7 separate regions of the Homo sapiens genome follow, and regions 1, 2, 3, 4, 5 and 7 are each linked to region 6. Evidence: promoter capture Hi-C in 16 types of primary human blood cells and fetal thymus (Javierre and others, 2016). All regions are on one chromosome and are shown on one strand. The core of a region is centred on a gene start or on the middle of the fragment in contact, and the rest is flanking DNA. Distances in the headings are between cores, read along the strand shown.

Region 1 (3,673 bases), core at 478-2,977, 4.3 Mb before region 6:
ATTTATAGATCTTAATATAAAGGTAAAATTTTTTATTATATTATCAAACATTCAAATTCCTATATAGACTTTGCAATTAGGCTAACAATTTAGAATTTCATTTCTTTACCTATAGTATCACTTGAATCAGTTATTGCTAAAGCATCTCCAGCAAATGTTCTCTACTTTTTTTTTTTTTTTTTGGGGAGAGTCTTGCTCTGTTGCCCAGGCTGGAGTGCAGTGGCGTGATCTTAGCTCACTGCAAGCTCTGCCTCCTGGATTCACGTCATTCTCCTGCCTCAGCCTCCTGAGTAGCTGGGACTACAGGTGCCCGCCACCATACCTGGCTAATTTTTTTTATGTTTAGTAGAGACGGGGGTTTCACTATGTTAGCCAGGATGGTCTCGATCTCCTGACCTCATGATCCACCCGCCTCGGCCTCCCAAAGTGCTGGGATTACAGGCATGAGCCACCATGCCCGGCTTGCTCTCTAACTAAAATTATTCTTGATCCATTAAATCAGGCTTTTAAAAAAAATTCATTATTGAAGATCAACCTAATGTAAATATTCCTAATGTAACAAGACAAAAAAAAAGCATTCATTTTTCAAGTTCCTAGAAACAGCTTATTTTATATTTGCATCCTTTTTTTATGAAAACTATATGTAAAGCTCAACATTCTAAAGCTAATCTATTTTTGAACTGCCTCTATATTTTTTGTAATTTATTTAAAAATAGATTAAATAACATTTAAAAATTTGTTGGTTTCCCAAGCTCCACAATTAAAGCTGTATTTTCTTTTCTGTTTTATTAAAATATAGTTAGTTTACTGTATGAAAAATGTGTTCTGATACATATACTTACATCATTTGTAGCCGTCTTCCTAGATCTTGGAAGTGGAGACTTCCTGTGTATATGAATTGGCTCTGATACCATTGGTTTAAACAATATCACAGCTCGATCAACTTCATCTCTTTTAGAAGTATGTGGTTCATCATCATTATCAATTTTAAAAGGTCTCCTGCCTTCATTCTGTGAGCAAAGAATATAAAACACTTTTACTATTCAGATTTAAGAAATCTCTTCTGATGAACAGATTCAACTACCACTGGTAGAGGTACTTGAAATACATATACAAGTTTGTTTACTCAGATGAATTAACATTAATTGAACTCTTCTAACAGCTTAGTATTATGCTGTGTACTATGAGGGAAAAGGCAGAGTCTCTGAGTTCAAAAATACATATACTCTATGGAGAAATTAAACAGTAAAATGACAATTAAAAAACCACATAAGACAAAGCGTTTAATTACATTTCATCAAGTGCAAGAATAAATAAACAATAATAATAAATGACAGTAAGAAATAATAGAGATGAGCTTTGTTATATAGGAGTCTCATCAACCTGAGCATGAACTAAACAGCACTTGTATTTATATATTTTAGAATATTTAAATCTATTCCAAACATTTCTAATAAATGTGATAACTGCATTAAAAGTAATAATCATTCAGTGACTCATTAAGCATTTACTAAGTGTATAACATGTGCCATGAATTGTTCTAGGACACAGATGAATAAGACACAGTCCCAGATTGCAAGAATCCTCCAACACAGTATGGGAGACAGGCAAGCTAAAAATTTTTATATCAAATATCCAACTATAAGATAATGCATACGTTGGACCATAGTAATACAGTAAAACACATATTTTAAAGCAATAAGAACGCACAAACTAAAACTAAATGCAACTACATTGATGAGCCTCATAAACATAATATTGGCCAAAAGAAAATAAACTGAGTACATAAAAACCCTCATCAAATTAAGGGTTACAGAGAATAAAAAGGTACTTCTTTAATCAAATAAGGGATATCCAAAACTTGAAGGGCTCATCACAGTTAATAATAAGACACTGAAAGATAAGAATGTCCACTATCACTAAATCTATTCATCATTCATAGATGATGTTATGATCATATACATAAAAAATCCAGATGACTCTAAGGGTAAATTATTAGAATGAATAACAGCATATATCAAGTTATAAGTTTGCTAGCTATAAAATTTTTATACAAAACTGAGTTAAAATTTAATATGACAAAAACAAAAAATGAAATTTAAATAAATCATAAATGAAATTTAATTTATCATAAATAAATCATTTATGACAGCATAAAAAACTATAAAGGAACTAGGAATTAATATGACAAAGATGGTGTAAAACAATTATTTGGTGCAAAAGTAATTGTGGTTTTTGCTATTATTTTTAATGAAAAAATAATGATTTTATCAAAAAATATAAAGTATAGTTAAATAAACTCAGAAATATACCAAGTCCTTAGACTAGAAGACCCAATACTGAAAAAGTATCATTTTTCTCCAAATTGATCTGCAGAGTAGTGGTAATCTCAATCAAAATCTCAAAGAGTCTTTAGAATATTATAAAATGATTATAAAATTTATATGAAAATGCATGAAACATGAAATATTTAACATAATCTTTAAGAACAACAAAGCTGGAGGAGTTCTATACTCAATATCAATATTTATTATAAAGCTATAATAATTAAGACTGTGGTACTGGTAGAGAGAGAGACAAATAGAGCAATCAAGTAAGACTAAAAATTCAGAAACCAACCAATCAAAATACAGACACAATATATGTCTGCAGTATCAGATGTAGTACTATAGGTGGCAGAAAAAGTATGAACTCTTGAATCTATGATACTGGGGTTTAGTTATTCATAGAGCGAAGACAACAAAACTGGACTGCACATCACATGTACTACATCCAAAAAAGTCAATTTTGGTGAATTAAAGGTTTAAGGTTATCCATTCTAAACACGGCCTTAAAATTCAAACAATCTAAACAAAAGATAAAATTCCTAGGTATTGCAATATGCATAAAAGTACAGTCTATACAAATCACACTTTAAAAAATTTAAACCATTTTCCTGCTTAGAAGTTAAAATAAGAATTATTTATAGTACATTATAAAAATCTCTTATAGAAACCTCATGAAAATCTAGAACTGTAGTAACTAAGCACTGAGAGTTCCACCTTCATTACCTCTCTGGAAGCTGGTCTATATCCATAGCCAGATGGCAAATTTTTGTCTTCTTCACAACCTTTGGCTCCCGGACTAAAGTGTAATTCAACATGAAAGCGTTCTTCTGAGGAAAGATCCTAAGAAATATGACAGAACATTTTCAAAATGAGAAACTTTAAGCTCTTTATTTATGTCTGGTAAAACACAAATCAAGAGCTCTGTTTACCTTATTAGGATCCTCATAAAGCATGATAACAATCTGAGTCATGTAGTTGAGCTCATTGACAACGTTTAAATAATCCATAGCTCGTTTCCACTGTTCATCCTTTGATTCCTGAACAAAAGATACATGTGGTAATCATTTTCTCAAACTGTGTTACTTGAAAGTCACTTTATTGTCACTATGGTAGCTTGTTTAATCCTAGTGATACCACATAAAGTGAATACTTATCATATGCAAAATTTTAAAAAATAATTCCACTACATTTAAAAGTCTTAGTATGTTATTTAAGCTTGTTTTGATAAAATATTTTTAAAATCTCTACAAGTTTGAGTATCCCTAACTTGAAAATCCAAAATCCAAAACCCTCCAAAATTCAAAACTTTTTGAGCACTAACATGACACTCGAAGGAAATACTCATT
Region 2 (3,728 bases), core at 1-2,500, 4.3 Mb after region 6:
CATGGCTGAGACATAAGAGAACAAGCTTGTAATTTCATGCTTGGGCATTAGATGCATTTTTGGAAAGCAGTGATCAGTAAGTATGTGTGCTTTCAGAAAGGAATGCTTGCGTTCTGCTCCAGGCTTTGTCGATAATGAAGGATTCAGGAGAATTTTGGATGGAGGTCTGAGGTAGCCAGAATAGTTGTAAAGAGAAATTGCTTCCGACAAAGGGATAATGTGAGGAAAGGTGCTCATTTAAGATTTGAAAGATGTGATGTAGTGAACCTTGGCGACTTCTCTTAAGTAATGCAATTTCTTAGGTAACTAGTTTTCACTTGCCACCTTATATTTAGATAATTACCTCCCCACCAACCCCCGTAAAAGGCAGCTGACTGTTATTTTTTCAAAACAGTCAGTTCCCGAAAGAGTTGTAGGTACTATTGCATTTTTTTTATGGGTATGCTCCTCATACCCATAAAAACATTTTCTTTATCGGAGCATACCGATAAAGAAAAATGCAATATGTTCAATTCAAGGCCCCTGTTAACACCAGGCCAGTGTCTTCTTAACCTTTTGAGAGTAATGCAACAAACCATATTTAGGACAGCACATTGATTTTCTGGCCTTGTTGGTTAATAATTCAACAAACTTATAATCGCCCCATTAATCCCAATCTTGACATTTTGTTGAATCTTGTATTTTTTCTTTATTTCTCCAGTTGAAAGTATTATAAATTACTTCAGGGATATTATGTATTATATCTGTACAGCAACTAGTTTTTAGAGGCAGTGATTTCTCTCTTTGAATTGCTCTTGAATGTAGCCAATCATTAATACTTACCCCAAGTAGATACTGTCTGCCAGGCACTTTACATTTATTATTTTATTTAATGTTTAATAAAAAAAGAAAATCACAAAAATTGTATTATTTCTATTTTGCAAAACATTTTATACTGAGACCCAAAGAGGTTGTGATTTTCCATAAATTATACAATTAAATGGCACAATTAAAATTTGAATCCAGTCTACCTGACTCTAAATTTTGGCTCTTTTTACTGTGCTCTATACCTTTATAAGTAAACATAACAGTATCATTATTTTCACTCCAGGTAAAAATGGATAGATAGTATGTCACATTTAGAAATCAAGTGGATAGCAAAACTTGAGGATAAAAGGGACTTAAGGGATGTGTTCATCACCATAAGGTAATTTTGACATCTAAATAATGCAGTTTCTTTAGTGCCTTTATCCTTGGCCAGTTTTATTATCCTAATTCAAACAAATGCCTATACTGTACATTAGCATAACACTTGGGGCAAATGCAGAAGATCTGGAGACCATCAGCAAGCATATTGGTGACTGAGTCCAGAGTATCAGCTAACTATCTCTTTAGACAGCTTTTCACACACACATTTGTATACATGTATATTTGTGTGTGCATGTGTGTGTGTGTGTGTAGGGAGAAAGAATGAGTAAATGAGCACAAATTCATAAAATTCAACTTTGTAATGATTTATAAGGAATTATTAGCAAAACTGTGCTGTTCCACTCACGTAACCCTCAAACAGATGGGGATTATCACATAGTTTCAGGAATATGCTTTATTAAACCTGCCCATCCCAATACCCAATTCTATATAGAGAAACAGAAATAGCCTAATTTTCAGAGAATTTACAAAAATTTAGTTGAAATGACCAATACTAGAAATGACATAGAAGTTAATTCTAAAGAATATCCTGTTTTACAACTGTATAGGTATAGCTAGCCTGAAATACTAATGTGTATTTGATTACATTGCATTGACTTGTAGGCAGATCCCGTAGGCAGATCTCAGGGATATTTTGCTATCAAATTTCAGTGCTTATGAAGTTTGGGATTATGTCTGTTTTGTTCGTCATCTCAAACCCAGCATCTAGCACTGTGCCTGGCGTGTAATAGAAGCTCAATAAATAAGTCAGGAACCATGACTCATGACTGTAACCCCAATACTTTGGGAGGCTAAGGCAAGAGGATTTGAATCCAGATCCTCTAAATTTTGGCTCTTTTTACTATGTTCTATACTTCCTTTAATAAATAAACATAGGTCACAGTGAACTATGATCATACTACTGCACTCTAGCCTGCACAACAGAGTAAGACCCTGTCTCTAAAAAATAAAAAATAAGCATTTATTGAATGAATGATTCCTTTTTAAAATGTTATTTATCCACCGAGAAGTATTTGTACATTTTTTAAAGGATTTACCACATAAATAAATATTTATTTTTACTCACCTTGCCCCTGAAATACAGTGTCCACTCCACACTCATTCATAAAAGGCAATGTGCTGTCCTGCAAAGAAGACTGGACTGTGAGACAGGAGATGAGAGAATATCTAATATTTTTCTGTGTTTATTCTCTGCTATTCAGTGTTAAATTACTCCTTACAGCACAGTGGGTAAGTATTATTATCCTCCTTTTACAGATGCTAAAACTGAGGCAAAGATAAGCTTTGTAAATTGTCGTAGGTTACGCATAGTCATTAAACACAGCTATGATTTGAATGAAGGGCTCTGATCCCAAAAGCGATAATCTTAACCACTTTGCTAGCCTCCAGTTGAATTTTTAATCCTGGTTCAGCTGCTAAATGTGTGCAAAAGCTCTGGGTATCATGTTTCTCATCTATAACATATAGGAGTTTGATGGATTATATTATCTGTAAGGTCCCTCCTACCTCAAAAATCCTCTGACTTTAGTTGACTCCTAAGTATTATCTGAATATAGCAGTTCTGGAGTGCCAGAAAACCCTCATCAATTTTGATGTGTTTTATGTAAGCTTTTATATGTGTTCACGTCTTCCACATTGGTGGACACACAATCATGTTTTTGCAATAGGAAGAATAGAGTTAAAAAAATCACAGCCATGCTTTTTTTTTTTTTTTTACCAGCTATGACACTAATAAGTCACTGAACCTTTGTGAGCTTATGTTTTCATATGTAAAATGGATCCATAGGATTGCTGTGAGCGTTAAGTGGGTTGACTTATAAAGCCTCAAACGTGTTGTCTGATACACAATTGCTGATAAATAAATATTGATTCTTTTTCTTGCTCAGTCTTGCAAGGATAAAAGATTAGTGGATATGAAAAATGCTTTATAAATTAGACAAAGGTGAAGAATATTTTCACTTACAGTCTACTAGGAGAGAGAAAGTTATATAAACAAATAATTATATGTAGGGCAATTTACATACATCATTGAACACAAAACATGGGAATGCAAAGAAAAGAGATTTTTTTTTTTCCAGGAGGGCAGATGAGGAAAGACCTCATAAAAAAGGTAATATTGAGTTTGTGCCATATAGGATGGAAAGGATTTTGGCAGGGGAACAAGAGGGACAAGTGTTCTACTGGAAGATGCAAAGGTGTCAGAAAACAGAAATAGTACCTAGGTCACTTTGGCTATGTAAGATGGATGAAGGCTGGTAATAAAGCTGAGGTAAAAAGCTGAGTTTAGGACAAGCTGTAGATAACTGTGGGCAAGTTAGAGATGTTAGGCTTTTAACGATAAGCAATAATCTGTGTGTATAACTAGGATGGGGTGGAGGATGGAGTTGGCATTTGTTTTCTTTGTTATGGAAAAACGCCCATTTGTTACAGAAACATTAGAGTGTACAAATATGCCAAAAAGGAAAGAGAAAGGAAGAGTGGCCCATGACCCCACCACTCAGAAATAACTTATGATTTTTCTCTGTATTACAGATTTGCAT
Region 3 (3,580 bases), core at 53-2,552, 4.3 Mb before region 6:
AATTTCTATAAGTGAAAATCTATTTTAAGTGTATGGGTAGGCACTTTATCTAAAAGCTTTATTGCCTCATTTGTGAAATGGTTGGGGGAACTACTTAGCTGCATGGTTATTTCCAACTTGAAAAATATTAAGATTTGGTGGCACATCGTGGAAAGTCTTATACAAAATCCTTCTGAATCATGGACTCTTTCTCCTATGAGCTTCTATTTTCTAAAATCATAAATTATGCGACAGAAAAAAAGGTATCAACCAATACCGTCTGGTTATATGGTTGGATATCAAATACAGTTATATATTTCCGCTTTATTTCTCAAGACTACATCTATCACAAAGTGGGATAGATTTCATTTATACTTTTATAAATGTCAATTTAAAACAAGCAGGAGGAACATTAGAAATATCTGAATGTCTTAATCCTAAAGAATAGTTTTGACAGTCTTAAATCTCATTCAAACTTTCATATAATTTGCCTCATGTATTTGGTGACATATTCTTCTTTTTAAGCTTTTAAATGCATTAGAAAAATATTTACACTTTCAAAGAGTTTCTTTTTCAACATCAAAAGAAAGAAATCAACTAAAACTTTAGTCTGGATTTGAAAGCAGAGGAGCCTTGAAGACATTACCCAACTCTTGCACTGGAGCTGATGTGTAAATCTAGGAAATGATCGGTAATTTCATAGTAAACAAAGAGTAGTAACTGATTATTCCTATTATGCCAGTGCCAAGCCAAAAATAGAATATAAACACAATGTCCAAGGGAGCAACACAAGAAAACCAAGGTGCAGAAGCTCCATTACATTCTCACTTTTTCTAATTTTGACTCTGCTTCCTGCTTTGTGGGAGGAGGAGGAAGAGCAGGAGGAGGAGGAGGAAGAGCAGGAGGAGGAGGAGGAGGAGGAGGAGGTATATGGTGAAAAAGAGGGAAAAATAAATAAAAAGAACAAGACCAGAAACTAACTAGTATAAGATTATACGTTTTCTTTAAGACATAACCCATAAAGAAATCTACTACAAAATTACAGTAAGGGTTCTACCCCCATCTCCCACTTATAACAATTAAAAGATTGTAATATAAAAATTCCCAAAACATGTACCTTTCAAATAACACACATTTTTAGAATACTTTAAAAATCTATAATTCTCTAACGCTTGCAACTGATTTTGGCCAATGTTCTAAACACTGAAGGCTTGGAAAGATATCAACAGATTTCCTCTCCAAAACAGTCAGCAAGAGGAAAAGGAATCCATGTGAAATTCTTAGAAGATAGACTAAATGCTGCATAAAAACAAAGACTGAAGTAAATAGAGCAAAGGCTACAAGATATAATAAATGCTTCCAGTTATAAGAAGCTGAAACAGAATGCAGTGGGACATTATCCCATAAGCAATAAAAATAGGAAAAAACCAAGCAGTGGCCAAGAGCTGCCCACAGACTTCTGGATAAGAAAGTCATGGGTGACTAAGCAAAAGACACCCAACATTTCACTGCAAGTGGAGCTTCTACAAATAGAAAAGTTTGCAAACATTAACTACCAAATGTATCGAATTTCTCAGGTGATAGTTATTATCACAGGTAAATAAGAATGCCTTTCAAAAGAAGAGTGACTATATATCTCAATTCATAGTCAATACCCTGGCATAATTATTGAAAGCAACCCCCTTTAACTCTCAAAAGTGTCTCAGTTTGGCTGTTTCATTTGTTATCCTACTCAAAAGCAACATGGAAAGGCAATGACTTTTTTAAAAAGGGAAACACCCTTCTGCTTGAACGGTGAATTCCCATACAGGTCTGAGTTCTTTCTTCGGGTGTACCCACTTAGATATTCACTTATTCAGTCATTCAACAATGTTTCTTAAGTCTTATTATATATCCCCACACTATGCAGGCACTGGTGCACATATAAAGAGATGGCCTGAGACTGGGTCAGAGGGGAGGGCAGACATGGAAATAAATCCTTCTAATAACAGTAAACCTGAATGGCACTAGGAACCCAAAAAAGGGAGTGCCTTTCCCAAAAATATACAAAGCTCCATTTGGAAATGTTTATGTCCATACAAAATTCGTAAACACACAAAAAAGTCGTGAATCTCAAGCTTCAGCACAGATCACTAACAAAACAGCAGTAAGAAAAAATTTAACAACATTGATCACAAATCATAAGACTATAAATATGAGGACCAGCACATAGCCCTTTCAAATATTGGTAAATAAAAATCACATTCATCATTAAAGTTTATATTATGAAAGGACAAATTTTAGGCAGAGAAATTGGTACAGTAGAAGCTGTGAGTTCTAATTCTAGCTATCAAAACATTTATTTTCATTTTTTTCATGGCCCTAACCTGAAGCCCACCAAAACATTTTCAAGAAAGAAAAGAAAGAAAGAAAGAAAGAAAGGAAGAAAGAAAGAAAGAAAGAAAGAAAGAAAGAAAGAAAGAAAGAAAGAAAGAAAGAAAGAAAGAAAAAGAAAAACAGGTAGTATTTTCAGAGTGGCTATTTAAGAAGAGACCACTAATGGAAAAGCACTTGGAAAAAAAACATCAATTTTTAAAAATTCTTTCAAAATAGTGAAAATATTTTGTAACCACTAATCTCAAAGACCACTAAAAACAAGTAAAAGATGAACCAAAACATCTCTGGAGGAATACTAACTGAACACTAAGCAGAAATAAAATGGCTTAACTGTCAAAGTACAACACAACAATGAAAACAAAATGTTTAGCTGCACCTAGATGCTCATCTTAGAGGCTTCTTTCAAATATTCTTACTTTACCATTTGCAACTTGCAAAAAGTAAGTCATCAATACTCTTTAAGAAGAGTTAACTAGGGTGTGACTTTTCTGAAACCATCCTTGACCTTACAAACAAACCATTAACCTTGCCAACTTTGTAAGATAACCCATAATTCGTTCAGTAAGACAAAAATGTGTTTCTCTTTCTAGTATCAGTTCTTTTAATAGCAATCCACCCCCTTAAAGTGCAGCACTCATTATCTTTCCATTTCTGCTAGTAAAAATTAAACCTAGGTTACTAATATCTTCTTATCACGTGGTGTCATCCTTCTACTTTTAGAAAAATACTCAGTTTCACTGCAAATATGACCGACAGTAAGTGGAACTAAAGGTCAACATGCAGCCTTTACAAGAAATTTGTCTCTTAGGAAGTATCATCAAAATGGAACAGGTGTACACTGTGGAATTGGCTAATCTTTGGGAAGGCTTAAAACCAGGTACTCATTTTGATAGGCTGGTGACAAAATCAAAGTTCTCTCTGGAGGAAAGGAGCTGATCCCCCACCTCACCCCCAGCTACAAATCAGCAAAGAAATTTTAAACCCTGTACATAAAGCTTTATTACTCTAACCATATTAAGTACTTTTGAGTTAATTTTATAATAGCTCTCTAAAATACACAGAAATATACAAAGAAAATAAGCAAATTCATTGACTGTTATATAATATCAATAAATATATCTTATACACTGAAATAATTACTAACACTTTCATTTGCAATTAAATAAACTGTTAGCAAAAGCATATTCTATACATCAATTATTATCAAATTAACAGGTCTCTGTAT
Region 4 (3,746 bases), core at 742-3,241, 4.4 Mb before region 6:
TTTAATGAATATCTTTTTGAACTGACTAGATTACCTTATATTGCCTACCCCTAAACAGTATTTCAATCCTATAAATATCCTGATCCCTTAAAAATGTTTCCACGTAAATGCATTAAAATCTTAGATCAGCATGACACTGAAAATATATGCAAAAACTAAGAAAAGAAAAAAAGCCCAAATTGTGTTTTTAAAAATGCCCAATTGAAAATAAAATACATAAATCCACCAACTAATTCAGGGTTCTATTTGATCATTTCAAAAGATAATCTACATTAGGAAACTTTTTGAGCAAAATACTTTCCATATAATTTTCTTATACAAATTATATCAAAAATATACATTTTTAAATGTGCTTCTGACACTAATTAATTAAATAAACCTCTCTCTGTCACTCTCACCCCACCTTGCCCCAGAAAAAAAGGGAAGGGTAATGCAAAGGGAAAAAATATCACTTAAGTATCCATTTATTTATTCATTCTCTCACAGCTCTTGCCTTCCCTGCCTGCTAGCTCCAAGGCTTCAGTTCTTTAACACTACCTCTCCACCTTAACTCTTCTCTTCTAGTTCTCTTCAGTTCATCTCCGCAGCCTACTGAGGAGACGGGGAGTTAACACCTGAACATCACTAGCATTCCCTGGTGCTCCTCAGATTCAATTATTTTGTTAAGATGCTGATTTTCCCGTATTTGTCATCTCCCCAGGCTTTCCAATGAAGGTACTTTCAAGAAATATATCTTTACATGTCAACTTTTATACAGATCAGCAATGTAAGTTAACACATCCAATCAGCCAGCCAGGCAGAGAGAAAAATAAACAAGATTGTTCTTTCTTAAGACTTCAGCTCCATGGGATTTAAGCTCCCCTCTCTTAAATTGTTAGTCTACAAAATATGTGCTTGGGGTGCCTCTTATGCTATCTTTCCGCTTTCCCAATAATAAGCACGTTCTTGAAGGTAAAAACTGTCTTAAGCCCTTCTCTTCCCAAAGTACTGGCATGTGCTCAGTAGATGCCTTATGGGTCACAGTGTGGGACCATTCTCATCTGTTCTCTGGTTAGAGGACAGGATCCAGAATGGTCTACAGATTGGTCTACTCCAAAAGCTTCAGACTATTTTTTAAATTTACCTTGTAACCCACTGCAAGGGGTGTGGAGATGTGATAGGCAAAACTCTTATGTAATGCTGATCAGTTCAGTAGCAGCTGCCTAAAGTGCTAAGAAAGATAATGCATCCACATCTGGACTCTAGGGGGACTGTGCTCTGATAGATTAGTGATGTCTGCCACATGCATAAGCGAGGAGCACGGTGGTCGGCATGCTCAGTATTTGCCATCCCAGCTCCAACCCCTTAGCCAAAACCTGAACTTCTTTAAGTTCAAAAACTTCTTACTGTGTAAGTTCCTTTCCCTAACTGAGGCATTAGGCCAGGGACAAAAGATGATTCAAAGTCTTCCAAATATATATTTAATGCGTAATCCTTTTACATGAAAGTTTGGTGAAGAATAGTTTTCCTGGCCAATCAGGCTAAAGGTCACTATCATGAACCCAGCGTTCCCTCCTCTTTCCACCGGATCACCATAAGAATCCTCTCTTGAGAACATTCAGAAGGAACTTTCAAAGTGCAGGTGGCTTTTTCACAAAAGCAAAAGCATCAAAGCTCTTCTCTCCAGAAGCGACTCCAGCCAGGATCACTTAAGGATTCCACCAACTGCAGCTACTCTCTTCCAATCTAATAGATGCTGAGTTCCCTTTTCTCCTTCTGTGCTTTCCCATACATCTATACATCAAGCACAACCCCACGGTCAGGGGTGACAACATTCAGACTTGGTTTCAGACTTTCTCTCTGAAACCATTTAATAAAACGTTGCACAGCCGGGCACGGTGGCTCAAGCCTGTAATCCCAGCACTTTAGGAGGCTGAGGCAGGAGGATCACCTGAGGTAAGGAGTTTCAGACCAGCCTGGCCAACATGGCAAAACCCCATCTTTACTAAAAATACAAAAACTAGCCAGGTTTGGTAGCGGGTGCCTGTAATCCCAGCTACTTGGGAGGCTGAGGGAGGAGAATCACTTGAACCCAGGAGGTGAAGGCTGCAGTGAGCCAAGATCATACCACTGCACTCCAGCCTGGGCGACAGAGCAAAACTCTGTTTCAAAAAAAAAAAAAAAAAAAAAGGAAGAAGAAGAAGAAAAAAAAAATCTTGCACAAAGTCATTTCACAATGGCAAGAATACAAATTCAACATCTCTCCAGGCTAAAGAAAGAAGTGTCCTTGGGGGCTCAGCAAACTCAAAATAACAAATCAAGCTCATTCTTCTTTTCTTCTGTTTCCAGTCTTCTCAGCCAGAAAAATCCTTAACTTTTTTCCAATGTAAAATATCACAGAAGTCCATTTCATAATTCTTATCTAAAGACGTATATTACAAAGTGAAGTGCATCATTAAGTGCTGACAGCCTCCACTTCCAGCTTCATAATCACACTTATTATATTTCCAAGGCAATCTTCCTCATCAATTTCCATTTCTCTAATCAAATTACATTGTTTAAAAAGGCAATTTTACTTAATACTTGCTGTCCTCTCTGCATTACAGTAATGTACATGCTTGCTCTCTTTCAACCCCAACTCTTCTAGAGCATTTATGCCATTTATAAACTGTGACAGTCTCCCCTCCTCTGTTCACTGAATGAGAACCACTTAGACCAGGGTCACTTAAAAGTTCCTTTAAAAAAGTTCAATGATTATAATAGAATAAAAGCCTTTCTGAGACAAATATATGCTAGAATAAAAAACTAATAAAAAAATAGGTTGCTTAAGATTTGAAGAAATATTTTCTTTAGTGGAAGACTTATTTGCCTCTAAAACTTAACTCAGAATCCTCAAAAAGCTTCTCAAACCTCAAATATTGAAATCACCTAAATAAAGTATCCCAGGGAAGGAAAAAGACACAGTGATCACAGATGGGCATTATAGGGCATAAGAAGCAATGGACAGGACATGATGGCTCTGGAACAATAGCCCAGCTGGGCTGGAGTCCAGAAGATCTGGGGGTTCTGAACTGGTTTTTACATGTTAAATCCATCCCCATAGAGCCTCTTCTTCCATGACTACTGACTATGGGAGCCCTGCACCCAGAGGTGTAAAATGCAACCAAATGGAAGTCAGAAGAGCAAAAGAAGCTCACCTCAGATTGAGGCAAGGAATGAAATTTTACTGCAACTTTATGCATCATCTGAGCTTCAAACAAACGGTACTTTTGCAAAAGAAGAAAAAAATTAAAGTTATATAGTGCTGCAATGTTTAAGGGCAAGAACAGTAAGATAATATCATCAGGTATATTCTGGCCAAGTGTGCCCCATTTAGTGTGGAATATTAAATTGAATAAAAAATGAAAAAGTTAAAAAATAGAAACCATGTCAAAAGGGATTGTTTTTCAACTAAAAGAGATCCAGCCTACCCTTTTTTTAAAAAAATTGGTTCTTACCTACCATAGGCTACAATTCCATGGGGTGCAGAGAAAGTAAGACTGAACTAATAAAGGGGTTCTGCAAACACATTGTGAAAATTACTGGCCTAGAGTTTTGAAACTTTCTTTCTAGAAAACCAAATTTAAAATTATATATCTTTACTAATCAAAAAAGAGTAAGTATGCCATATCTTATACTATTAACCCCCCTATTTTTGCCACAGAGTTTCACCTGTCTTTCAGGAAAAAACAAAACAAAACAAAAAAAGCTACAAATTTTTATTTAGC
Region 5 (3,747 bases), core at 309-2,808, 4.8 Mb after region 6:
GTCTAACTCTAGGTAAATATATCAACCTACAAATTGTCTCCATCACAAACTAGAGGCTATTTTATGTTTTTTTGTTCGAAATTCTCTTAAAGTATGTTTTGAACACTGATATGTTATCTTTTCTCATTTTAAAAAAATTCCAGGCATAATGAAAAGGGTGTTCTTGGGTCTAACTCAGTTTTGTGTCCCCAGCATCTAGATGGAAAGTACAAGTGATAGGGGGTTGATTTCAAGTAATAATCATTTTGTTGGAGGGGTCATTAGAAATTATTTGGTTATATGATCCTACTTTTTGGGCTTTAAATATAAACTGAATCTAGAAGGCAGAACTTGTTGTAATTACTATCCACACTTCACACATACTGTCTTAGTCCATTTTCTGCTGCTGTAAGAATACCACACACTGGGTAATTTATAAACAAAGAGATTCATTTGGCTTACAGTTCTGGAGGCTGGGGAAGTCCAAGATCCAGAGGCTGCATCTTGTGAAGGTCATCTTGTGGCAGAAAGCATCACAGGGGGAGAGAGGGTGAGACAGAGTAGTGAGAGTGCACAAGACAGAGAGAAAATGGGGACCAAATTTATCCTTTTATCAGGAGCTCACTCCCATGATAACTAACCCACTCCCACAATAATGGCATTCATCCTTTTATGAGGGCACAGTCCCTATCACCTAAATCACCTCTTTAAAGCTTCACTTCTTAATATTATTACAATGGCAATTATGTTTCCAATGCATGAATTTTTAGAGAACACATTCAAACCACAGCACATTCCTGCTTGGGCTTGAGCAAGGGCAGGAATGTTACTTGATTCTCCAAATTTAAGTCAGAATCCAGACCTCATTCTAATACAGTTGGTTAGTTTGGACAGAGCTTTGCCCTTAGCATCTAATTAAGAATATTTTCCTTAATGGATTTTCTTGAGCTGCCAAAATGTTGGCACTGAGTCCTAGTCATGATAAGTAGGTTTAAATTTTATTTTTAACTTAAATGAACAACATGTAGCCTTGTTAGTATTTTTGGAGGTGTCTGTCTGCTGTATGTCACTGAAATCATTTAATGTGAAGGGTGGGAGTAGATTGATAAAAAGATAGATGCCCAAGGAAGTGGTCTGGAATAGGAGGAGGATACGCAAAATATGGTATAGGGACATTTCTTTGATCATCCTAGTGATCAAAGATGGACCAGCTGTTAGCCAGGAGGGAACAAATCTCCTTTCCTTTTTCCTTATCTTAGTAGGATTTTGAAGTGCAAGAGAAGAGAGGTGGGGAGAGAAACTGAAGTTTCTGGCTTCCCTAGAGATGTATAAATTAAAATTATAAACTAACTTGTACAGTTTAGATGACTATGGTTAAAATGAGGGGACATTTTTGTACTATATTGTGTAGTCATCATTGTAATGGTTTCTGCTAAGCTACACATGGGCTGTTGTAATTCTAACAAAACATCTAAGCCCACATACAATTTTTGTTGCTTTCCCTCCTTTCTCCTCACAGATTTGCAGAAGATATTTTTGTGGTCAGCTGAGGCAGGAGTTTACCATTTAGGGTAGAGTAAGGAGAGAAAAGGACTCACTCTGTTTCAGCACATAACCTCTTCATTCTTGATTTTGACATCTTAGGCAGGATTGGACTTGAAAGGATATTTACTCTTTGGCTGTTGTCATACAGCTATTAGTTTCTTTTGCTGAAAAACAAATCACTCCAAAATTTACTGGCTTAAAGTAACAAGAATCATTTTCATTATCTCTAATTGTTTCTGTGGGTCAGGAATTCAGAACTGGGCACAGTGGGGATGGCTCGTCTCTGCTTTATGAAATTTTGGACCCCAGCTGACTCAATGACAGGAACAATCTGAAGGCTCATTCATTCCCATGTAAGTCCAGCTGGAATTGCAGGCTGAAGCACCCATATGTTTGTTCAATAGTTTACTACTGAACAAAGTACATTCCCCTAACCCTTGAGTGGGCCTCTATCCTGGAAATATTGAAAGGTCATGTCACTCATCTTTTGACCAATCTCCATATTTTATGTAAACATTGGTATATTCTCTTAATGGAATGTTACTTTTTTATTCAATTTTCACTAGTTTTCTCACTTACGTTCTATTTCTATTTCAGGATCCAACATTAAAGTTGGTCTCTTTAGGCTCCTCTTGGCTCAGACAGTTTCTCAGACTTTCCTTGTTTTTCATGACTTTAACTGTTTGGAGTAGTACTGGTCAGGTATTTTGTCTGATGTTTTTCTCATGGTTAAACTGGGATTATACATTTTTGGGAGCCTTATCTTTTTAATATAATCTGTCACTGTTGCAAAAGTCCACCAAAATAAAAATGTTTCCCTCCTCTGTTCAACAATCCTTCAGCTTCCCCAATTGTCTGCAGCAGAAAATCAAATTACTCAGCATGACATAGAAAGCTTTTCAGAATCTGGCTGTTGCCTTCCTCTTCAGTATAAAGTGTCACTCTACAAACCATTTGAGTTCTTTCCGGAAATGAAGCCCTAACAGTCTTGCAATGCCCGAGATTCATTCAGGTACTCAGTTCTGGCTAACTCCAGTGGATTCTCTCACCTTTTACTGCTCCTTATCTCCCGCCACTTACTTACACCACTTTCTTCTTGTCCTATACACTTTTCTAGATTTCCCCAATCTATTATTTACCACTGTGATCATTCAGTCATTCAATAAGTATTTATTGTCTACTTTGTGGACAGGCACTGTTGTATGGTTGAGGATACATTAAAAAGACAAGATTATGTCACTACCATCAGTGAGTTTACATTTTAGGGGGCAGGGTACATTTGCAAAGTACAAACAGTGTGGAAGTGAAGTATACCTTAGAGAGTCTGAGATCTCCTCTCTGAAGAACATAACTGTTGGTTTACTTGTCAGCCACCAGACTTTCCTTCTCTTTAGCTGCCTCAGAGGAGAGGGTATCTAACTCAGCTTTGTTACCCCAGCGTCTAGTTTAGCCTAATTCATTAAATTAACAGTTTTGGACTAAATAAATGCTCTGAGAGTACTATCTAAAAATTAAAAATCAGTTGCTTCCATCCCTTTCCCCAGATTTATCCTTGAAATACCTTTCAAACCTGTTTCTGGAAAAAACATTAATATCCGTAAGATTCCCATTTGAGTCAAGTATGATAACGAGAAAACTTTTGTCATTAGGATGCTAATATTAACTTCCTATTTTACATGTCCTAATTCAAAGGTAAATTTAATCTTCCGAATCTAGACCTCCCGGTTTTTCTGGAGTTGAATGGACAGGGTAAAGTCTGACACACTCTGAGTAGCGGAGTGGGGAACTGGCTGTAAGGACATCCTTAGAATAGTTAAAATTCCGCTGGGAAAACGAGGCTTTAGAGTGGCCTCGTCCTCTACGGCTACCCAGGCAGCCTTCACAAGGAAGGGCGACCAGAGTCCGCCAGTGCATAAGAGAACTACACTTAATTCACGCGGGCCTCTTTCTCCAGTCCACCTAATACCACAGGAACCTACCCAGGGCCCGCGCCCCGCCCGTTTCCGGGTTGTCGCCGCCGCTGCCGTCAAGTGCGTAATGACGTATCAATCTCCTGAAGACCCCGGAAGTGCAACTCGAACTTGGTCGGGGCGCGGATCCCGAGAGGGAAAGTCATAACAACCGCACGAGGGAGTTCGACTGGCGAACTGGAAGGCCACGCCTCCTCCCGCCTGCCCCCTCAGCCCTGTGGCTGGGGGCAGAGCTCAGGTAGGACTGCCGTTT
Region 6 (3,793 bases), core at 281-2,780:
TGCTATTCAATTATTGCTGATAGATACATGTTTTCAAAAAGGCCATTGGCATCTGTTTGCTTTCTCCTACTTCTCCAAGTGAATACACCCTTCAATATGTAGTAAATACATATGTGGAGTTATGTTTTGAGATTTTTTTGAAGGATTTGAACCAAACTGTTTAAACAGCTGGTAGCCTAAAACTGGAATATTTCCCACAAGGGAAAAATAATTATTTGGGGAATGTATGTTACCACAAACTCATCTGACTTGGAAAGTGCGCCTTTACACCAAATCAAATAACTGAACAATGGGATTAGAAACTTTTAATTATTATTAACCTCGGCCACCGGGCGCCGTGGCTCACGCCTGTAATTCCAGCACTTTGGAAGGCAGTGGCAGGTGGATCGCTCGAGCTCAGGAGTTCAACACCAACCTAGCAACATGACAAAACCCCGCCTCTACAAACATAAATAAAAAACAAAAATCATTAACCTTGAGTGAGTCAAGTTCATCTGCAGACTGAAAAAAATAAAGTGTAACAGAATTTTGATTTAAAAAACGCTTTCAAAAAAGCATTTCAAAATGCTCTAAGTATGTTTCAAAAATACACTTAAAAATATGTTTCCAACACACTGAAGGGATTTAACTAAGATCCACAATTACAGTTACGATACAAACTGTAAGCTAAAAGGCAGCAACTTAAGCTGAGACAGTTACTAACATCCCTCGAGCAGCGTTTTTTGTTGCGATTCGGCGCCGCACCCGTCACCCCGCCCTCCGGGGAGGAACCTAGAAAGGAAGGGTGGTACATTTCTAAACCAGGCCACCCACACATGAATCAAGCGGCATCACAGGCTGTCAACAACCGGGTCTCTATTTTCTCTCCTCCTCCGGCGCCCCGCCCGTGCGGGACATCAGCTCCCAGGATGCGTCAATCGCAGATCGCCCAAGCGTAAGAGGTGGCGAGAGGCCACCACGGTTGCCCAACAGTTGCGTTCCCAGGCTGCCTGGTGTGACGCAGCAGCCCCCGCCCGGACCCTGAGGCCTGGCGCTCCGACTGAGCCGAGGCCTGTGCTACCCGACACTCCTTGCGACCCGGCCCCTTAGGCTTATTCAGCGCGGCCCTTCCCGGCTTCCCGAGTCCCATCGCAGTCTCTCCCCACCCCCGTTCCTCCCCGGTTCCTTGTCAGTGTCCGCCGCGATGTCCTTGCGCAACCATCCCAAGTGACATTAGCGCCCATACCCGCACGGAGCGAGCCTGAAGCTCCCACTTCCCGGAATTCAACGCCGGGCCGCTAAGGGCGGGCACCCAAGCGAGGATCAGCGGACTAAGGCCGCGACCAGAGTCCAGCGGTCTCCGCGCAGTCAGAGTCCGACAGCCTCTGCGCATCCGCCGTGCGCACTCCCATTCGTGCGCGTGCGCGCACTCGCCCCCCCCGCCCCGCCCCAGCACCAATCGCTTTTTTCCTACGCCCACGACCCTTCAACGTAGTCCCTCCCGCCTCCCGCGCGCGAGCAGAAAGGCTTCGGCGTGCGCGCGCCCGCCCGCCTCGCGCTCTGTCGGGAAGGGGAGTGAGCAGAGGCGCTTACGTCGCGCGGGAGGCGGAGGCGACGGCGACCTCGGTGGCGGCGGCGGCTACGACGGAGACGGTTGCGCTCGCTTGCTTTCTCGGCGTCATGGCGGCTGCCGGGGGCAGATAAGCGGAGGGAGCGGGAGCGCGCGCGCGACGGCGGCGGCGGCGGCGGCGACGACTGGTTACTTATAGCTCTTGCTGCCCTCGCCCTTGGTGCTTCAATAATGAATTGTTAGCTCCACTCCGCAGGGGATCGCGCGTTGGTGCTGCGGACCGGGGCTTCCCCTTCCCCTCCGCGTCTGTCCCCTTCCCCCTCCCCCGCACGGACTCTTGCTTACCCCGAGACGCCGGAGCCCTAGGACTGGGCGGCGGAGATCCCGGGCCTGGGCGCGGGGGAGGCCGTCCACCCGAGTCGGCTCCCTCCGCCCCGCCAAGCCCGCCGGTAAGAAAGGGGGCGGCGGGCGGGTCAGGATGTGGCGGAGAGGACAGGAACCGGCCGGGCGGAGGGCGGGCGCGGCGCGGTGCCCAGGCGGCGGCCCAGCGGCCGGGTGAAGGCCGGGTGGCTCTGTGAGTGCCGGTGGCGGTGTACGGGCCTGGCGCGCAGGGGGCGTGTGAGCGGCGAGTACAGGCCGGGGCCGCAGAACGCATCCTTGCGCCGGCCCGGCGGCCCTGCCCCGGCCTCTTCGGCTTGGTGCCGACCGGGCCGCGAGAGGAGACCCGCGAATGGCTAGCACTTAGCCGGTGCGTGGGTCCTGCCGCGACCCGGGCTCCCAGCACGTGGGGAGCGGCGGGAGGGGGAGGGGGCGGCGGCTCGGGCGAGCCTGGGAGGGCGCGGGGCGGGTCTGCGGGAAGTTTGAGGCGGGAAGAGGGACTCCTGGACCGGGATGGAGGCCCTGGGAGAGGGGGGCAGGTCCGCGAGGGAGGCTGATTGGAGCGCGCTGGATGGATGAGTGAGGATGGTTTCCAAACCTCTTTCGAGTGCCGCTTTAAAAACTTAGCAGGAGCAAAGCAACTGCTAAAAGACAGAGGATTGAAGAGGTTTAATAACTTAGGGTAGTCATTGTGGAGACGCTTGAGAGGACACAGCGCTGTGTGCGCTTGGAGCTTCAGAACTCAGGGTTGTGAAAAGGGTCTCAGAGGACTTATTCGGATAAGGGAGATGGAGGGGAAAGGAAGTTAAAATGTACAGAGAAAGCCATTTTGAGGGACGAAAGGAAGGTGAAAAGGAAAGAACGAAAAGGGGAGTGAACTTTTTAAAGGAAGAAACGGGAAAGGCAGTTTGTTAACATACTTAGATTTTTTAAGACTTAATTGTTCAGTAAGGCACTTTGACTAGGGTTGAGATTAATATTTAACATTAGGAATAAATGTTGAGTAGAACGGTTACTTTTTAGATAACCTGTTCTTGCAGAGTCTACTGGACAGTAGTCTAGAGAATTAACATCCTGATCCAGATGCAGACTTTGCTATCATTGAGTTGGTAACAATCTGTTTCCCTCCCTCTCTTGTGGAATGGAAATAATCGTAGGAGTGAATTCTCTTTGCTGAGGTCGGAGGACAGCTCTGCTCTCAGTTGGCTGTCTCGGTACTTTCTGGCTGGGGAAGGATCTGACGTCTCCTTCCCCCGCTTCTTCCTCTCCCTCCCCTGCCAGAGATCTCCTTTGTTTATTCGTGGATGGCTTGTAGGTGATTCTTCAGTGTTGTACTGAAATCTTTAAAGGTGGAAATGGTGTGTCTTGGTTCATTATTCTTGCCCCAAATTTTTTACGTAAAAAATCAGATATAGTGTATATTCTATTACCTTTTCAATTTTTTTCACAAAATAAAAACCAAGTGCAAACTGGTTAAGTATTATTTAAATGTTATCATCCCACTATCCGTTTACCTGTTAAATAACACATTTATTTTGAGCTATGCATTTTTGTTGAGAGTATATGGTATCTTTTATTTGCCTGTTCCTCCCATGGGAGCGTTTTCAGAACTTTCTCACTCAAGTGTATGAAGTTCTTGGTGATAGGAGTGAGGGCTTGATTAAAGGTAACCTCCTCCCACCCCCCCCCCCACTTCATTTATTCGACCAAGTTATCTAATAAGACTCCGTTATCTACTCTTGGGATGTATGCATATGTTACATCGTATCACCTTGCTTTAGGAGTCTATAAAAACATTGTTAGTTGCAGTTAGTCTCTAAAAATCCTTTCACTCCACAAATATTTTAATTTTTTCTGTCCGAAGTA
Region 7 (3,463 bases), core at 120-2,619, 4.3 Mb before region 6:
TCTGCCTTTGTCAATGCATAATTTACATGCACTAAAGTTCAAACTATAATTTAGTTGAAAGGACAAACCCAGAACTTTCACATACACATTTAATAACAGTACACATAATGTACGCTACAAGGTGATTATCATATCTCAGACTTCTTCCAGTTCTGAGAGACTTTTATATTTAAGCGATCATCCTACCTAAGCTTTCAACAGAATTCATGACTAGAAGACTCACAGGGACATAATGGTACGGATCCTGATGTTCACTAATCTCAATCTCGCTACAGTTATTTATGAATAAGATAGTCGTATTACCTTCTTCTGTTACACGAGACAAAGGCTTGGAAGTGTTAAGAGGTATGCAATTAGGAAAGATGAACTAGTGTTCAAAATCACCTTGCAGTTTCTTTTCTCTCTCATCCTAGGCTACTGTTTGTGATTGTCTAAATAAAAGGATTCATCCACGCATTCCCTGGAAAAATTTACTACCCAAGTTCACACAGGACAAATTTGGAGTAGAAAATCCATTTAATTACTTCTCTTGGGAAATATCGCTTCTGGCAGAGAAACTAATGTGATATTAGAAGGCTGCTTATTCGGAATTTGTGTAAGAACTACACATACCACGTTGGGTTTGAGCAAATTATCAGGGTCTCTTTGTTGGCCCACTGGAGTCCTTTTTCCTGGGAAATGCTGAAGACAAGAGTCCTAAACTGTTCCCAAGCCCAGGTTTTCTCTCCTCCAAGTTACCCTTTCTGTTCTTTGAACATCTAAATATTTACTCAAAAAAGACTCCTTACTGTCTTACAGAGAGAGACTCTGTATTAACCTCTTTTAACATCTGACAGCTTCTAGCCTTTTAAGGAAGTGATACCTCCACCTATCACAATTTAGCAAGTTTAATCTATTATACAAGTTATCATGTTAACTACCATTAGCAAACAGTAGGACAACTGTGACTTCCTTACAAGGCATTGTGATTTTTGTACTATCACCTTACTGATTACTCTTGAAATGTAAGCCCATCTTTAATACTTAACATCCACAACATCCACAAGTTATAAAACTGCTTTTTGGTTCATGTGTTCTTCAGTAACAGTAAGTAAAAAACTGTCTTTAGAGACACTCTACATATTTTTCAACCCTTTTGTCATCACCAGGAAAACCTTTGCAAAATGAAAACCTTTGTTTCTCAGTGGTAAATCATCATAGACAGAAAGAGTTGGTTCTTGAAATCACACTGTGTGTGCTTTAGGTTGGTCCTTAACTCAAACCTGGTGTGTATTTGCGCATGTGTGTGTGTGTGTGTGTGTGTGTGTGTGTGTGTGTGTGTTGGGGGGGCTGGGCGAGAGAGAGAGAGAGAGACAGAGACAGAGAGAGACAGAACAAAACAGAAAGACAGACATAGAGAAACAGGCAGAGAGACAAAGAGACAAGAGATAGTGCTACATTCCTGGAGTGTAAACATCTTTTCTTCCTTTAACCTAGCGTAGCTTTATCATATCTCTTTAGTCACAGTTTTTGTTCTTGCCTTTCCGTTGCTGCAAATCCTGGACTGGCAATTTTCTTTCTTCCCACAACCTGGTCAGATACAGCCAATAGCTTTGTGGTCAGATTCTTTGCTCCCTGAAATCTCCTAACCCTCAAGATATTCAGCACAGGCCTGATAAGCATTGAATCACTGCTCAGCAATCCTCCAGGTCTTGTGAAAAGCATAGGTCTGGGACCATAGCTTTTTTTTCCTTTCTTTCATCCACAATATTATTCTGTGCTAGTACATAGTAAAGTGCTCAATAACTGTTGAGAGAAGGAAAGGAGGAGGGAAAGAAGGAAAGCGAGCACATTTGGCAAGTGATTTGACAAAAACCAAAAATCTGGGTACTTACATTTTAAGACATGGTATAAGAAAGTTGATAGAAAGAAAATTCTGATACTTAGGCAATCCGATCCAAAACTTTGCTGTTTTGTGTATTTGTGTGTGTGTGTGTGTGTGTGTGTGCGGTGTGTGAGAGACAGAGGGAAATACTAACACCAGTTCCGGGGTGGTGGTGATGATGATGATGATGATGATGAAAATGATAATTCTTTCTTAACTGAATTTTAATAGGAGTACCAAAAAATGAGAAGAGAACAAAAATTGTGGCTGGCTGTAATATACTACTTACCATCATCTACATGAACTGCTTGCTGTCTGAGCCAGGTTACTTTGCAATATAATTATCATGATAAACACACTTACATCTTCCATATCCCTCCTAAATGTGTTTCACAAGGTTCAATTTCCAGTCTTATGCTGTTTTTAAAACATATATTGTTTTTCTTGGAGATTTAAGAATCAACCATGATAGTGCCTCTCAAAGTTCCTTAAGTATACAAGTTTAGTAAATATTGAATGTTTGATGAACTAATTAAATATAAGCTCAAGGCTAAATGGTGATTTTGGAAATTACATATTTAGTATGCATATTTAGTGTAATCTTTCAAACTTAAATAGTAGAAACCTTCATTATTCTACCTCCTCTTTTTCATACTTCTTTCCTCTCCATTTTTTAAAGCTTACATCTTAACTTTACTATTAAAAAAATTAACTGTAATCCCAGCACTTTGGGAGGCTGAGGCGGGTGGATCACTTGAAGTCAGGAGTTCGAGACCAGGCTGGGTGACATGGTAAAATCCCATCTCTACTAAAAATACAAAAAATTAGCTAGGCATGGTGGGGCATGCCTGTAATCTCAGCTACTCAGAAGGCTGAGGCAGGAGAATCGCTTGAACACTGGAGGCGGAGTTGCAGTGAGCCGAGGTCTCACCATTGCACTCCAGCCTGGGCAACGAGAGTGAAACTCCGTCTCCAAAAAAATAAAAATAAAAATAAACTCTGCAGTGAGCTCAGTCCTCTGATAAACCAGAGTTTGTGAGTAATAACAGCATGATATTTAAATTATGAAAAAGTAGATAAGAGATAGGATTATTTTTTATTTCCTGATATTAAATCATTAAACTTGTCTTAGTCCATTTTATGTTGCTGTAACAGAATGCCTGAGACTTGATAGTTTATAAGAAAATAATTTTAGTTAGCTCATGGTTCTGTAGGCTGGGAAGTTCAAGAACATGGCTGTGGTTTCTGGTGAGGACTTTTGTGCTGCCTCATAACATGATGGAGAGGAAGCAAATATGTAGAAAGAGAGAATACTTGAGGGATGCCCTGGCTTATAACAAACCACTCTCTCAGGAACATTTCTGTGAGAACTAATCAGTCTTGTCAGATGGAGAACTCACTCACTACCAGGAAAATAGACACCAAGCCATTCATGGGGGATCTGCCTCCATGACCCAAACACCTTCCATTAGGCTCCATCTCCCAGCACCACCATATTGGGAATCAAATTTCAACATTAGTTTTGGTGGGGACAAACAACCCATATCCAAACTGTATCAGTGACTAACTTTATTTTTAGTTGTCTCTAATTAGTGTTAC

Evidence for each region. Contacts are between HindIII fragments. The CHiCAGO score rates a contact against its expected background, and 5 or more counts as called.
Region 1: a fragment that was not itself captured here is called in contact with the fragment with the promoter of CHD1 in region 6 in 8 of 17 cell types (M0 macrophages, neutrophils, monocytes and 5 more); the score reaches 10.9 in M0 macrophages.
Region 2: a contact is called between a fragment that was not itself captured here and the fragment with the promoter of CHD1 in region 6, in 4 of 17 cell types (non-activated CD4 T cells, activated CD4 T cells, fetal thymus and 1 more). The highest score is 9.6, in non-activated CD4 T cells.
Region 3: a fragment that was not itself captured here is called in contact with the fragment with the promoter of CHD1 in region 6 in 8 of 17 cell types (neutrophils, activated CD4 T cells, non-activated CD4 T cells and 5 more); the score reaches 18.0 in neutrophils.
Region 4: a contact is called between a fragment that was not itself captured here and the fragment with the promoter of CHD1 in region 6, in 1 of 17 cell types (neutrophils). The highest score is 12.1, in neutrophils.
Region 5: a contact is called between a fragment that was not itself captured here and the fragment with the promoter of CHD1 in region 6, in 4 of 17 cell types (total CD4 T cells, naive CD4 T cells, monocytes and 1 more). The highest score is 9.0, in total CD4 T cells.
Region 7: a fragment that was not itself captured here is called in contact with the fragment with the promoter of CHD1 in region 6 in 1 of 17 cell types (neutrophils); the score reaches 8.1 in neutrophils.

The regions. Positions count from the first base shown.
Region 1 is chr5:103,177,358-103,181,030 of GRCh38, reverse strand. It overlaps PPIP5K2 (diphosphoinositol pentakisphosphate kinase 2), which reads right to left. Exons shown (of 31, transcript NM_001276277.3): 22 at 3,257-3,364; 23 at 3,051-3,167; 24 at 843-1,010. Among named protein-coding and RNA genes, the nearest start is that of PPIP5K2, 59 kb to the right of the region's middle. The HindIII fragment of the contact is 3,635 bases long and covers 1-3,544 here.
Region 2 is chr5:94,614,240-94,617,967 of GRCh38, reverse strand. All of the region lies in intron 1 of KIAA0825, which reads left to right. Among named protein-coding and RNA genes, the nearest start is that of KIAA0825, 2.5 kb to the left of the region's middle. RefSeq lists an enhancer at 1-350. The HindIII fragment of the contact is 2,445 bases long and covers 28-2,472 here.
Region 3 is chr5:103,260,526-103,264,105 of GRCh38, reverse strand. The region is part of intron 1 of MACIR (macrophage immunometabolism regulator); the gene reads right to left. Among named protein-coding and RNA genes, the nearest start is that of MACIR, 3.6 kb to the right of the region's middle. The HindIII fragment of the contact is 1,592 bases long and covers 507-2,098 here.
Region 4 is chr5:103,278,637-103,282,382 of GRCh38, reverse strand. It overlaps MACIR (macrophage immunometabolism regulator), which reads right to left. Exons shown (of 3, transcript NM_033211.4): 3 at 3,723-3,746. Among named protein-coding and RNA genes, the nearest start is that of MACIR, 22 kb to the right of the region's middle. The HindIII fragment of the contact is 1,780 bases long and covers 1,102-2,881 here.
Region 5 is chr5:94,111,496-94,115,242 of GRCh38, reverse strand. LOC105379087 (a long non-coding RNA gene) reads right to left here and starts at 3,541. Exons shown (of 7, transcript XR_001742441.2): 1 at 3,504-3,541; 2 at 2,839-2,918; 3 at 1,578-1,688; 4 at 442-496. It overlaps ARB2A (ARB2 cotranscriptional regulator A), which reads left to right and starts at 3,580. Exons shown (of 11, transcript NM_032042.6): 1 at 3,580-3,732. The HindIII fragment of the contact is 1,727 bases long and covers 695-2,421 here.
Region 6 is chr5:98,926,744-98,930,536 of GRCh38, reverse strand. CHD1 (chromodomain helicase DNA binding protein 1) reads left to right here and starts at 1,530. Exons shown (of 36, transcript NM_001270.4): 1 at 1,530-1,998. CHD1-DT (CHD1 divergent transcript) reads right to left here and starts at 1,975. Exons shown (of 4, transcript NR_151718.1): 1 at 1,895-1,975. LOC100289230 (a long non-coding RNA gene) reads right to left here and starts at 1,403. Exons shown (of 1, transcript NR_036530.1): 1 at 1-1,403. RefSeq lists enhancers at 797-1,126, 615-1,513 and silencers at 1,287-1,496, 1,757-2,386. The HindIII fragment of the contact is 7,543 bases long and covers 1-3,793 here.
Region 7 is chr5:103,242,001-103,245,463 of GRCh38, reverse strand. No RefSeq gene overlaps it. Among named protein-coding and RNA genes, the nearest start is that of MACIR, 15 kb to the left of the region's middle. The HindIII fragment of the contact is 2,352 bases long and covers 194-2,545 here.